2 separate regions of the Homo sapiens genome follow, and region 2 is linked to region 1. Evidence: promoter capture Hi-C in human tissues and cell types (Jung and others, 2019). All regions are on one chromosome and are shown on one strand. The core of a region is centred on a gene start or on the middle of the fragment in contact, and the rest is flanking DNA. Distances in the headings are between cores, read along the strand shown.

What was found. The method cuts DNA at HindIII sites, captures the fragments that hold promoters and counts their contacts. A contact is called where the count stands out against the background at its distance.
Region 2: a contact is called between a fragment that was not itself captured here and the fragment with the promoter of GSG1L in region 1, in 1 of the 25 tissues and cell types used here (dorsolateral prefrontal cortex).

What each region holds. Positions count from the first base shown.
Region 1 is chr16:28,062,350-28,065,007 of GRCh38, forward strand. It overlaps GSG1L (GSG1 like), which reads right to left and starts at 1,365. Exons shown (of 7, transcript NM_001109763.2): 1 at 727-1,365. The coding sequence starts at 1,075. The HindIII fragment of the contact is 12,466 bases long and covers 1-2,658 here.
Region 2 is chr16:26,473,402-26,476,059 of GRCh38, forward strand. No RefSeq gene overlaps it. Among named protein-coding and RNA genes, the nearest start is that of LINC02195, 120 kb to the right of the region's middle. The HindIII fragment of the contact is 5,496 bases long and covers 1-2,658 here.

The DNA.
Region 1 (2,658 bases), core at 115-2,614:
AATAGGAGCCTTGTGCTAAGCTAAGCCCTCCTGGACTCCTCGACCCGGAGTTTGCCCAGCTGTCCCCAGTTCCCTAGCCTGCCTCTCCCAGGAGGGGGCCAGGATACAGAGGGCTCCCTGGCGTCTGGCAATAGGGGTGCCTCTGGGCGGGTGCGGCTTTCCGGGAGCCCGCGGGACTCCCCCACTCCCCACTCCCGTCTGGGAGGTTCGGCGTGGGTTGGCGATGGGGGTGGAAGGCTCCCGGGTCTGTGGATCTGCGGCAGGAGGGGCGGCTGGTAGCAGGAGTCCCTGCATCACCCCCACCCCCAGGGGCGTTCCGGGGTGGGTGGGGGCATCTAGTGCCCCGCGAAAGGAAGAGGAGGAGGGGGCGAGCGTGGAGATGAGTTCAGGAGCGGAAAGCAGCGCGCGCCCCTCCGACCGGCAGCGGGGGTGGGCGCCTTCCCGGGGCGCGGGAGCGTCCCCAAAGCCGCGGGGCGTCCGCAGCGGGTAGGAGCTCTGCCTTGCACCTCTCCACGGCGGGGCGTCCCGCACGTCCCCCCATGCTGGTCCCCGGCCCCGGAACGGCGCGCGCCCCCTGCCCCGGAACGTCGCCCCTAGCCAGGCGGAGCGCTGGGAGCTGGGCCCAGGCGGCGGGAGGAGGGCGAACGGGTCCGGGGCTCGGGCCTCGATGGCCGCGCCGCCCCGGGGGAGCCGGAGCCGAGCTGGCCGCCGCCCGCGCGCACTCACCAAGCCCGCTGAGCTCCTCCTCGCACGAGTACCAGATGCCGGTGTGGAAATTCCTGAAGAGGAAGCGGTCGTCGCCGGTCTCCCAGCTGTAGAGCGCGCCGCCAGGGGGGCCGTTCCCCGAGGCGGTGGCGGCGGCGGCGGCGGCGGCGGGGGCGGCGGTGCCGTTGGCCGTGGCGTTGGCGCCCGAGTTGGGGCAGTTGGCGCGCCCGCCCTGGCCGCAGCCCGGCTTGGGGACCCGCTGCGTGCCCTGGCACCAGTGCGTGGTGAGGAAAGCGGTGGTGGCGAACAGCAGCGCCAGCAGGTTCAGGGCCACGGCCAGGAGCGCTCGGCCGCGGCGGCTAGTCTTCATGCCGCCCGCGCCGCCGGGACGGGACTGCACCGCCGGGGAGCTCCGCGCGCGAAGTTGGCAGCTGGCGCCCCGCGTCAGCGGCCGCTGCCCGCCGCGCCCCGGGGCTCGGGTGCCTGAGATCGGCGGCGGCGGACGCGGCGCGGGCCCATGCCCCCCCCAACCCCGGGGTGGGGGCGCGGCGCGGGGGGCGTGCGGGGCGGGCTGGCGGGGCGGGCGGCGGTGGAGGAGCGGCTACGGCGCGCCCGGAGCCCGGAGCGCGAGTGCACCTCGGCTAGGAGCCGCTGGCGCCTGGCAGCGGCCACGGCGCAGGGACGCGCGCCCCTCCGTGGGGAGACACCTGCAGGCGGCCGGCGACACTGTTCCGGAGCCCGCCCGCACGGGGAGAGGGGGCCGCCACGCCGGGCGCGGGCGGGGGCCTGGGAGTGGAGGGACGCCCCCGAAAGAAATCCGAGCCAGGGTGAGGGTCTGAGACGCAAGGAGAATCCCAGGCAAGGCGCTCCTGAGAAAAGATCCCCACGGCGGACGTGGGGCAACAAAACCCGCCGGGAGCGGGCATCTCATGAGACCCAGAGAGGCCCTGCCCCAGGAGACAAGGGCAGAGCCTGCTGGGGCTCCCCAAGAGGGACACGGACCAGCAGGACCCTGTCCCAGAAGGGGATCCCCAAAAGGACCCCCGCACCAGACCCTGAGAAAGGAGTTTTTCCAAAGGTTCTAAACAGCAGAGCCTGCAGGGCTTCCCACAGCCAGGGAGCTGCAAGACCCCCTGGATAAGACAACCCATGCTGGACTTGGAGTGGCAGAATCTGTCAGGAGGCGCCCCTCCTGGAGTATTGGGTTATAGGGTTTGAAACGTTTTTCTGTCTCCTGGGTGTCACCTCCAGCATCTGGGAAGAGCTCCCCTCCAAGGATGAAACTGTCATCTGGGCTCCCAACCATGGCATGCAACTGCAGGAAGAGTGGCAACAGGGTACCCCAGACAGCCCACTGCACCCACCTGAGATCCCAAACAGCAGAACCCTAGGAGGGCCCATGCCGGCCACAAAGTTATTGCAGCTACCAGGCAGTGGTGCCCTACAGGGGCTGCCAACCCTGCTCACATGCACACCATGTGAATGTGGGTAGAATCTTCAAGATTCGGGTGGGGGCAGGGTGGCCAAACATACTGACTTTGGGATCAAGCATATCTAGGGCTTGACCAGCTGTGTGGCTTTGAACAGGTCACTTACCCTCTCTGAGCCTCAATTTCCATAACTATAAAAAAGGGAGGACCCCCCCCCCTTCAAGGTATATCACAGTGGGCTGCTGTAATGAGATCATGGCTGCAAAAAGCATTTGGCACACAGTAGACTCAATTAATAATTCACTGTTACTGACATCTGAACCAAGATCAGTTGACCAAACTCAGACAAACCTCTTCAGGCTCTCCTGTGCAACGTGGAAACTGTGTGCAACCCCGTCCCCACCTCTGCTCTAAGATGACCACGCTCCCTGAACTCCCTTCGCGCTGCACAGCACTTACTGCCCAGATGCTCAGGGCGTGCAACAATTAATTGCATGTTGATTATAAGAGCTCATTTGAATTC
Region 2 (2,658 bases), core at 105-2,604, 1.6 Mb before region 1:
TGCATTAGGGAAATATTGCTTAAAAATAACACCAAAAACTCAATTCGTAAAAGAAAATTGATAAATTGGACTTCATCATAAAGTAAAACATTTGCTCTTCAAAAGGCATTATTACAAAAATAAAGAGGTGATTCACAGACTGGTAGAAAATATTTATAAAACACATCTATCAAATGGTTTATATCTTAAAAATGTAAGAAATTCTAACAACTCAATAACAAGAAGACAGATGCCCTAAATTTTAAAAAAAGCAAAAGTTTTCAGCAGGCACTTCACACAAAAAGATAAATAGATGGCAAATAAGCACATTAAAAGATACACAACATAATTAACCCTGGGAAAATTCAAATTAAAAGCATAACAAGATAATATCATGTACCCACCAGAATGCCTAAAGTTAAAGATAAGTCATGCCAAATATTGGTAAAGATAGTAAACAGCTCTTACATACTGCTGGTGGAAATATAACATTGCATAACCCCTGTGGAAAACAATATGGCAGTGTCTTAAAAAGTTAATCATGTACATATAATACCACATGGCCCAGCTATTCTTCTAGGTACTTATCCAAGAAAAATGAAAGTATATGACCACACAATTACTTCTAAATAAAAGCATATAGAAACATTACTTGTAATAGCCAAAGACTGGAAATAATGAAAACGTCCATCAACAGATGAGTGAATAAATAAATTGTGGCATATCCACACAGTGGTGTACCACTCAGCAATGAAAAGGAACAAAATATTGATAACTATTGTGTCCAGAATTGGTTCCTTCCAGTAGGTTCTTGGTCTCCTTGACTTCAAGAATGAAGCCGCAGACCCTTGTGGTGAGTGTTACAGTTCTTAAAGATGGTGTGTCCAGAGTTTGTTCCTTCAGATGTTCAGATGCGTCCAGAGTTTCTTCCTTCCGGTGGGTTCGTGGTCTTGCTTGACTTCAGGGGTGAAGCTGCAGACCTTTGTTGTGAGTGTTATAGCTCATAAAGGAAGTGCGGACCCAAAGAGTGAGGAGCAGCAAGATTTATTGTGAAGAGCCAAAGAACAAAGCCTCCACAACATGGAAACGGACCCGAGCGGGTTGCAGCTGTTGGTTGGGTGGCCAGCTTTTATTCCCTTATTTGGCCCTGCCCACGTCCTGCTGATTGGTCCATTTTACAGAGTGTTGATTGGCCCATTTTACAGAGTGCCGATTGGTCCGTTTTTACAGAGTGCTGATTGGTGCGTTTACAAACCTTTAGCTAGACACAGAGCACTGATTGGTGCATTTACAAACTTTAACTAGACACAGAGCGCTGATTGGTGCGTTTTTACAGAGTGCTGATTGGTGCATTTACAAACCTTTAGCTAGACACAGAGCACTGATTAGTGCATTTACAAACGTTTAGCTAGACAGAAAAGTTCTCCAAGTCCCTACCCGACCTAGAAGCCAAGCCGGCTTCACCTCTCACTATTAAATATGAGTGAATCCCAAAATTATTCTTAGTGTAAGAAGCCAGACAAAAGGAGTACACAGGGTATGATTCAATTCATAAGAATTCTACAGAATGAAAATTTGTCTATAGGAACAGAAAGCAGACCAGTGGCTGCCTGAGGATAGGTTGGGAGAAGGGAATGATGCAGGATGTGGTGCAATTTCAACCCTCACGCTTTGCAACTGCTTTGGAAAGGGGTTGGTGGTTTCCTATAAAGTTAAATATACACTTCCTATAGGATCTGGCAATTATATGATTAAAAGATAAATAAAATGATATGTTCATAAAAAGCCTTGTACACCAATATTTTATAGCAGCATTTCTCATAATAACCCAAATGTCTTGCGAAAGGTAAAAGCTTGAAAAAGTGATATATTTATGCAAAGGATACTTGATAACAATGAAAAAGAACAAGTTAGTGATACACACAATAATGTGGATGAAACTCAGAAGCATTATGCTGAGCAAAAAAGTAAGATAAAAGGAAAGCAGGATCCCTTTACTTGAATTTCTAAAATAGGCAAAACTATAGCGATAGATACCATATCAGCAACTGCTTGGATTATGCAGTCAGAGGCGATTTACTGCAAAAGGCTCCTGAGGAAACTCTCTGACGTGAGAGAAACATTCTCTGTCTTTATTGGGAATGATGCTTACACGGGTCTATAAACTGGCCAAAATTCATAGAACTATACACCTAAAATATGTCCTTTTTATTGTATGTAAATGATGCTTCAGTGCTGTTGATTTTAAAATGGATAGAGTATGGAGAATTGGAAACAGAAGTGAAAGAGAACAAGTCCCCGAGGCCTTAGGATTTGTGTTTCCCCAGTCACTTTATAAGAAACAGCAGGTGGCTCTTGCCAAATTGAGTTTATTTTTAGGCAAACAGTTCATTGGTATACCCTAGGGGGTTATTTTCTAGCACTGAGTATTTCCTTTTGCATTTTGTTCTCTGCAAATAAAACAAAATAGTTGGAATGGAGCTTGGCTAAATAACAATTGAGAGTGTTTTGTTCTTGCTGGGATACATAGTAGCGGATCCAAGGTTTTGCTTACATGGTTTCACTCCTGCAGTTTCCATTACCAGTGGTCAACTGCAGTCTGAAAATATTAGGATATTTTGAGAGGAGGTCAGAGGAGAAAGAGAAAGAGAGAGCACATTTATATAGCTTATTTTATGG